Regions from separate parts of the Homo sapiens genome. Here region 2 is linked to region 1. Evidence: promoter capture Hi-C in human tissues and cell types (Jung and others, 2019). All regions are on one chromosome and are shown on one strand. The core of a region is centred on a gene start or on the middle of the fragment in contact, and the rest is flanking DNA. Distances in the headings are between cores, read along the strand shown. Region 1 holds the start of EIF2AK2 (eukaryotic translation initiation factor 2 alpha kinase 2). Region 2 overlaps HEATR5B (HEAT repeat containing 5B).

Region 1 (4,559 bases), core at 531-3,030:
TGTCTTGGCCTGGTCAATTTCTACTTCCTACAGATTTCAGCTCAAAATCCCAGACACTCCTTCACAGGCTCTTCCACAGTGCTCATCCCCTTTATTAAAATTGCTTATTTAACTATTTTCCAAAATAGAGCATGAATTACTACAGGTAAGGGACCAGGCTCAATAATGAATGAGTGAGTACCAAAATATCTCCAGATACCCCATCCAGGACTTGTCACCTGCTTTTCTCTACATTTATAGTGCAATATCTGCATTCTCTCTGTACCCACCAATATCCACTCATCTATCAGGATCAACACAGCCTTCTTTGATGCTGGAGGGTCAGCTAGTATGGGCTTGCCACTCCACCTTGCCCAACCTTCAACACAGCCCTGACTGCTTTTTAAACTAATTAGTGAGCTCTTTGGGGAGCAGATTCTACATCTTATTCACTCATCTGGAAGAAACCTCCATCATAATCACTAAAAAATAATATTTGTCCATCTTACTAATGCCCAGAAATTATTTTGGCTATGCCTCCACTTCCTTTCCAGCAGACTACATACAGCCTGGCCAACACGGTGAAACCCTGTCTCTACTAAAAATAAAAAAATTAGTTGGCTGTGCTGGCGGGCACCTGTAGTCCCAGCTACCTGGGAGGCTGAGGAAGGAAAATCGCTTGAACCTGAGAGGCAGAGGTTGCAGTGAGCCCAGATCGTGCCACTGCATTCCAGCCTGGCGACAGAGTGAGAATCTGTCTCAAAAAAAAAAAAAAAGAAAAGAAAAGAAAGAAAATGTCACCAGGTGATAACTACTATGTTGACAACCGAAGTAGTGGAAGGGGGAACAGCAAGGGCAGAGCGGGGTTTCTTGTATAGGCAGGTTGTTTGAGGAAGGCTGCTCTGATAAGCTGGCATGGGAAGCAGTGCAGGATAAGGGAGGGATTTCCCCATGCAGTTATCTGGGGAAGAAGCTTTCCAGAAAGAAGAAACAAGCAGTGCAAAGGCCTAGAGGCTGGAGGATGCTTGGCTGTGCACCAGGAACAGCAAGGAAGCCAGCGTGGCCGGAGTAGGGGGTGCGAGGGGCCTTGCCTGTGAGCCTTAATAAATGTTTATAGGATTCTGATGAGACAGGAAAGCTACGGGGAAGGTCGGAGCAGGGGAGAGTCTGGTTCTTACTTAAAGGAACATTCCAGATGCTGAGGTGTGGAGAAGAGGTAGGGGGTGGAGGTTCAGGGGTGAGGATACGGAGTGGGAACAGGAACTGCGGCCAGGCAATTGGGAAACTACTGCAACTCTCCACGGAAGAGATTTTTAGCCAAAGATTGTTCAGCCAGTCTATGAGTATTTCAGGCCTCCGTATTTTCCATGTGTCAAGCCACTAGGCCTATTCGTCTTCCACTAGACCCCGCCCCACAACTGCTGCCTGGGAAATATTTGTTACTTGCACTGATAAAAATTCTTCACGGGAAGGAAATGGCTTTCAGTCCCCACCCCGCTCCACGATCCTTTCCCTGGATTTGGGGAGGGCCCCACACCCGGGCTGCGGACCTGGGCCTGCTCTCCCAGTGCTGACCCAGCCGGGGCCAGGGGCTTCGGATCAGCGTCCGCGTCCTGAGCTGGGGACGCAGGATTGGCGAGTCCCGCCCCGGCTGGGCCTGCAGCCCCTCGTACGTGGCCCCCCGGCCCCCGCTCCCCGCGCTCCCTCGGCTGCCCCCTGCCCTGCTCACCTGCGCCGCCGCCGCCGCCGCCGCCGCCGCCGGCCGGAGACCCGCGGCTTCGGGAGAGCTGGTTCTCAGTTTCGTTTTCCCCTTGGACTCCGCCTTCCCTGCAGCCGCCCGGCCCCCTCTCGCACAAGCCCTCGTCTGCTACGGGATTGGGGTAAATTGGCGCTGGATCCAGAGTGCGCGCGAGAGGCACTGGCGGGCGGGCTTGGCACCGGCGGGCGGGCTTGGCACCGGCAGGCGGGCTTGGCACCCACGTGCTGCCCCTGCACGGCCAGGACCCTGCACCCCCATCCCCCGCCCCCGGGGCTCCTAGGGTTCTCCGCTGGCCTAGTCCGCTGGCCGCACTAGGTTCTCGAATCAAGGGTTCCACTTACTCTCAACACAAATATTTGGGGTGGGGTTGGGAAGATGGATCTTACCAGCTCCATTCTACAATAGAGGAAACTGAGTAAATGAACTCACCCAGGGGTCCTGCCGCTCGTAAGTGGCAAAGCCAGGATTCAGTTCAAGTCGGGGCCTGTAAACACCAAAGCACTCTTTCCCTCTTGCCACACCGCGGCCCCCTCACCTTTACAAGCCTGGGGATCAGAGGCCTGGGGGCGTAATCTCCTTCACTCCGCTCCCACCCATCCATTCATTCATGAGCAGACACTTGCCAGCCGCTGTAAAAGCACCTGTGGGCCAGTCCTGCTGCTAAATAGAGACACCTGCTTCCTACAGTACCCCAGGGAGCTTCCTACCATAGTCCAACACCAGTAGTCCTCGATTTATAGAAATTCTACTCACCTGATGGACTGCGACACACTCCCAGAGTCACACAGAGTTCCAGAGTTCATTGGCACAGTGACTAATGAGTATTGAGGCACAGAGAATTTGGATTAACACAGGTAGTAAGCAGCGGAGTTAGAATTATAACCAGGAGTTTGTACTCTCAGTATCTTAGCTGGGATAAGAGAGGAAGGTGGTCCAAAGACAGACCTCAAATATACATTAAATATTATGCCTAGGCCGGCGCGGTGGCTCATGCCTGTAATCCCAGAAATTTGGGAGGCTGAGACGGGCGGATCACCTGAGGTCAGGAGTTCAGGACCAGCCTGGCCAACATGGCAAAACCCCGTCTCTACTAAAAAACACAAAAATTAGCTGGGCGTGGTGGCAGGCACCTGTAATCCCAGCTACTCCAGAGGCTGAGGCAGGGAGAATTGCTTGAACCTGGGAGGCAGAGATTGTAGTGAGCTGAGATCATGCCACTACACTCCAGCCTGGGTGACAGAGTGGGACTCCAATTCAAAAAAAAAAAAAAAAAATTACACCTAGGCAGGCATCCTCTCCAGCCTCCCTTCTCCATCCCCCAACAACCCCACATTGCAGGGTATCAACAACTAAAATCTACACTTTCCTTGTAGCTCTGGTCCTGGGCATAGCTTAAGTCCCCTATATGTAAAGCACTGGCGGGAGGTTTAGAAGGTAGACATGAGGCAGAGCCATCTTTTTGTGGCATTTCCAGGTGACAAGAAAACTCTGACAGTGCTGTGTGTCCATTTGTCAGCTTTGTGGGTGTGGGATGGCTGTGGCAGCAGCAATGGCAGTAGCAAGGACAAGTTTTTCTGACTTTTTGAGCCCCTGAACTGCCCAAGAGAGCTTAAAGAATGAAAAATGGCAAGCTTAAGCATGATCAGAGGACACACGCTTTTATGACTGTACCAGAAAACCCTCCTATTTCAGGGAGCCTCAGGGGTGATGTAAAAATCTGCCTTCTCTGCTGGGGAAAGATTTGGAAGGAATGATATCAGAGGGTTGGTGATGAGGTCCAGGGGAATGATATGATATGGGTGAACCTCTTGGAATGGGTAAAGTGTGAGCATATTGGACTCCCTGAGGAGCCCAATTCCCTACTGTCTGGGCTCTCAGCTGCAAAGCTTGGTGCTGCAGGCACCAGAATTACAATATAATTGTTTTGAGACAGAGTCTTGCTGTGTTGCCGAGGCTGGAGTGCAGTGGCACAATCTTGGCTCACTACAACCTCTGGCTCCCGGGCTCAAGCAATTTCCCTGCCTCAGCCTGCCAAGTAACTGGGATTACAGGCGTGTGCCACCGCACCTAGCTAATTTTTGTATTTTTAGTAGAGAAGGGGTTTCACCATATTGGCCAGCCTGGTTTGGAACTCCTAACCTCAAGTGATTCCCCCACCTCGGCCTTCCAAAGTACTGAGATTACAGGCGTGATCCACCGCGCCCAGCCTAGAATTACAACAAAAATTTTCATTTGCAGCCTCATCAGGTCTCTTCTGTGAACACTGAGGGCATTGATTGTGAAAGAAAGAAGCCCTGGGAATTTGGGTGGATTTGAATGAATCCAAGTGCCACTGCCCTCCTAAATTCTGCTGTGTCTCCACAGGCTTCCCACCATTGTCTGATAAGGCTGGTACAGCCTACATTAAAAAGCATGAAACAGTCACCCTGCAAGGAGGTGCTGATTCTCCAAATATCCTATCTCTACCTGTGCCTTCACTCCTAGAACTAGAATCAGATGCTAATGCGCCCCAAGAGGATATGGACAAGATCTGATGGAGGGGTGATGCTTTACACAACAAAAGAGCAACAGAAAGCAAGAAATAGACATGGCAATGAGTCTAAAGATGACGTGAAGAAAGCTGAAAGTTGAGGCTGAGCGCGGTGGCTCATGCTTGTAATCCCAGCACTTTGGGAGGCCGAGGTGGGCGGATCATGAGGTCAGGAGATTGAGACCATCCTGGCCAACATGGTGAAACCACGTCTCTACTAAAAATACAAAAATTAGCTGGGCGTGGTGGCATGTGCCTGTAATCCCAGCTACTTGGGAGGCTGAGGCAGGA
Region 2 (4,559 bases), core at 988-3,487, 170 kb before region 1:
AAAAAATCAACTCACTACATTATGTAACAGAAGCAAAGGCCTGGTTTTTTTTCTTTTCTTTTTTTTTTGAGATGGAGTCTCGCTCTGTTGCCAGGCTGGAGTGCGCTGGCATGATCTCGGCTCACTGCAACCTCCAACTCCCGGGTCCAAGTGATTCTCCTGCTTCAGCCTCCCAAGTAGCTGGGACAGCAGGTGTGCGCCACACACCCAGCTAATTTTTGTATTATTAGTAGAGATCAGGTTTCACTATGTTGGCCAGGATGGTCTCGATCTCCTGACCTCGTGATCCACCCACCTTGGCCTCCCAGAGTGCTGGGACTCCCAAAGTGTAAGCCACTGCGCCCAGCAGGCCTGTTTCTAATATCAAATAAGATTTATATACAATACAGATCTTCATTCTGAACTAGTAGCTTTTTATAAGAATATACTTACTGTTTTGTTCTTCACCAAGAGCAACCAGTGTTTCAAGAACTTTTATTCCTTCTTGAACCGCTAAAAGCTCTATGTTACTGGCTGGTCTGTTTCTTTCAACAGCTTTTAGCTTTTCAACCACTATTGGAGCTAATGAATGAATATAAGGAGTTGAAAGGGCACGATTGGAATGCTGGAAGACTGAGAGGAGAAGCTGGTAACATTTGGCTTGAACCTATATAAGAAGAACATATTATCAATTAACATGTGTATAGTTCTTATTTGCTCTACAATCACATTGCATCTTACTATGTACTGAAAATAAGTGATACTGCAGGACAAAAATGGAAATTACATTTTCTACTTAGAGAAATGGAGTAGAATAGAATTTTGTGACAAAAATTAGTCAAAAATGTTCATATATTTTAATGACCAAATCACCATGCTTATACAATTCCTGTATTTCTTTTTTCTTTTTTTGAGATGGAGTCTCGCTCTGTCGCCAGGCTAGAGTGCAGTGGCACCATTTTGGCTCACTGCAATCTCTGCCTCCCGGGTTCAAGCGATTCTCCTGCCTCAGCCTCCCAAGTAGCTGGGATTACAGGTGCGCACCACCACACCCAGCTAATTTTTGTATTTTTAGTAGAGACGGGGTTTCACCATGTTGGTCAGGACGCTCTCAATCTCCTGACCTTGTGATCTGCCCGCTTTGGCCTCCCAAAGTGCTGGGATTACAGGTGTGAGCCACCATGCCCGGCCAATTCCCATATTTTAATACTGTGAAATAAGTTAGAAATCAGTTATTCCCACTTCTGTTTTTAATTCTTCCTTTAATGTACAATTGTCCCTCCCATTTTAACCAAATATATTTACTAAGGAAGGTTAAATATTTGAATGATCTGAAACAAAGCTATAAAAATACATTGCTTAGATATCTCAAAACCACTTGATTCCCTGGAAATGACTGTTAACAATGTAAGGTTTCCAGACCTAGAAAATAAAGTCTTACTGGCTCCACTTTGTATTAGAAAGGCTTCAGATTAACACTTTTTTAAAAAAATGAAGGAAGGAAAGAAGGAAGAGAGGGAGGGAAGTCCCACCAATATATGGGACACAGTGGAAGAAAACCATTTCAGTGCTTTGGTAGAACACAAGTGGCTAAATATGGCTAGACACAAGAAAAACCTGAAGAACATTTTAAATATACAGATCTTGGAGCCACCTATCTGGAGACTCAGATTCAGGAAGACAGTACTGGAATCCAAGAATGTTTCCTTTTTTTTTTTTTTTTTTTTTTTTGAGACGGAGTCTCACACTGTTGCCCAGGCTGGAGTGGTGCAATGGCACAATCTCAACTCACTCCACCTCCTGGGTTCAAGTGATTCTCCTGCCTCAGCCTCCCAAGTAGCTGGGATTACAGGCGCATGCCACCACACCTGGCTATTTTTTTTGTATTTTTAGTAGAGATGGGGTTTCACTACAGGCTGGTCTCGAACTCCTGACCTCCTGATCTGCCTGCCTTGGCCTCCCTAAGTGCTGGGATTACAGGCGTGAGCCACCGCACCTGGTCTTCAAGAATGTTTCTGCTTTTTAAAATTTCTGACGTGTAGCAGGCTTGAGAATCAAGTTTAGACTCTGACATTGTAAAATAAAAAATCTTACTTTCTAGACAAACTAGTTTCTAGCAGGTTCATTAAAACGTCAATAATATAAGCTTCTCCTTTAATGTCCTTAGCGTCATTTAAATAAACACTGGAAAACATAATCATAGACTCTTGTCTCTACCAGTATGCCCTGGGGTTAATCAAATATTTCAGATATTGAAGAATTTCTACATATGTGAATAAACATACACATGTGTTCTAGTGCTTAAACCCAGTGATTTGTTTCAGTTTTTCCATTTAAAAGCCATAGTGCAAATACTTAGCTTTTCATTATGTATCACATATTTTAATGAATCAATCTGACATTTTCCTGATAAAGGGAAATGTTTTTATCTATGTCTGTGTAACGTGTAACTTACCCATGGGTCGCATGAATTTAATGCATTTTTAAATCTGTTCATGCAGCCATTCTGTAATGACTGGACTCCTATTATTTCATTACTAGCAGACCACAGGAAGAGTGCAATTGCTGTTAGCATGCTTACTTCATCAGGTGTAGGTACAGAGTCTTCTGAAAATGAAAAATGAAAGAAGTGTGCTGTTTCTAAAACATTTTGGCATTTTATTTTTTTATTTTTGTAGAGAGAGACGTTGTCTTGCCATGTTGTCCAGGCTGGTCTTGAACTCCTGAGCTCAAGTGATCCTCCTGCCTTGGCCTCCCAAAGTGCTGGGATTACAGGTGTCAGCCACTGTGCCTGGCCAGAATTTTAATCTTGAACAATCATCTCTCTCTCCCCACAACATTTATAGTAGTACTTGCCTTAATCTAATACAGTCCACAGACAACTGTAAGAAGTTCAATGTATAAAGTTAAATGTATGCAGTTATATTTAATGCTAAATTATTATAAAATATTCTAACTAATTTTAAAATCCAGAGTACATTTTTAAGTGATATCTCCTTTCAATTTAGTAAATATGAAAACCTGTAAATTCCATATAACCATTAAAAAAATCGGTTGGGTGCAGTGGCTCACGCCTGTAATCCCAGCACTTTGGGAGGCCGAGGCAGGCGGACCACCTGAGGTTGGGAGTTCGAGACCAGCCTGACCACAAAATTAGCTGGGCATGGTGGTGCATGCTTGTAATCCCAGCTACTTGGGAGGCTGAGGCAGGAGAATCGCTTGTACCGGGGAGGTGGAGGTTGCAGTGAGCCAAGATTGTGTCATTGCACTCCAGCCTGGGCAACAAAAGCGAAACTCTGTCTCAAAAAAAAAAAAAAAAAAACTTGGACAATTTCCTGAAGACAGTGTTCTAAGAATTTTAAGGAATTTCTTGCCATTACATTTATTCAGGAATAGATACAACTTGAACAGAAATATAGTACGTAATTAGAAATAACTAGAAATATGAACATTTATTCTAAAGAACAATATTTCTGAACATATAAAATACGAGTTCCAAACATTTTGTGATTATCATTTCTTCAATAAAACTGATCCCTATCTTTTGTGTAAATTTGACCTATTTTGGCAACTGTAAATACCCAGTGATAATCAGTACTTTAGAAGGATTACAAACATATATATGTGACATGCTAACATTATCTCATAATAAGGGTACCAGCTTTTTGTAATATGGAATAAAGGGTTAAGAACAATAGTCTAGAAAAAGTCCATTAACTTAATGTAAAGAAATAAAGTTTAAAAAAAGAGATGTCGGCTGGGTGTGGTGGCTCATGCCTGTAATTCCAGCACTTTGGGATTTCTAGAACAGACTGGACAACATGGTGAAACATCATTTCTACTAAAAATACAAAAATTAGCTGGGCATGGTGGCACACGCCTGTAATCCCAGCTATTTGGGAGGCTGAGGCTACAGAATTGCTTGGATCCGGGAAGCAGAGGTTGCAGTGAGCCAAGATTGCGCCACTGCACTCCAGCCTGGGTGACAGAGTGAGACTCAGTCTCAAAACAAACAAACAAAAAAACAAACAAAAGAGATGTAAAATTTGAAGGATTTAATCAATTTATAATAACCTGAGTCACGAATGTTAAAAACCTGAGAACCCACCCAGACTAGGCAGCTCACTCCTGTAATCCCAGCACTTTGGGAAACTGAATTGGGAGGACTGCTTGAGCTCAGGAATTCAAGACTAGCCTGGGCAATATGCTGAGACCCTGTCTCTACAAAAAACAAAAAAATTAGCCAGGCTTGGTGGTGCATGCCTGCAGTCCCAGCTACCTGGGAGGCTGAGGCAGGAGGATCACTTTAGCCCTAGAGGTTAAGGTGGCAGTGAGCTGCGTTCATGCCACCACACTCCAGCCTGGGTGACAGAGTGAGACCCTGTCTCAAAAACAAACAAACAAACAAAAAACCTAAAACAAAAAAACCCTGAAAACCCCATCATAGGAAATTTATTCTACATAGAATATAATCTCTTACTCAGAGTTGGCAATGCTGCAAGCAATTTTTTATCAAAAATTATTTTATATTCATTTTTTAAAAATTATTTTTTTTTCTTTTTTCCCCCCAAGGAAGAGCT

Evidence for each region. The method cuts DNA at HindIII sites, captures the fragments that hold promoters and counts their contacts. A contact is called where the count stands out against the background at its distance.
Region 2: a contact is called between a fragment that was not itself captured here and the fragment with the promoter of EIF2AK2 in region 1, in 1 of the 25 tissues and cell types used here (pancreas).

Annotation. Positions count from the first base shown.
Region 1 is chr2:37,155,200-37,159,758 of GRCh38, forward strand. EIF2AK2 (eukaryotic translation initiation factor 2 alpha kinase 2) reads right to left here and starts at 1,781. Exons shown (of 17, transcript NM_001135651.3): 1 at 1,709-1,781. RefSeq lists silencers at 1,571-1,690, 1,891-2,080 and an enhancer at 1,711-1,840. The HindIII fragment of the contact is 10,738 bases long and covers 1-4,559 here.
Region 2 is chr2:36,988,214-36,992,772 of GRCh38, forward strand. HEATR5B (HEAT repeat containing 5B) reads right to left here. Exons shown (of 36, transcript NM_019024.3): 34 at 2,435-2,586; 35 at 433-646. Among named protein-coding and RNA genes, the nearest start is that of STRN, 24 kb to the left of the region's middle. The HindIII fragment of the contact is 5,900 bases long and covers 1-4,559 here.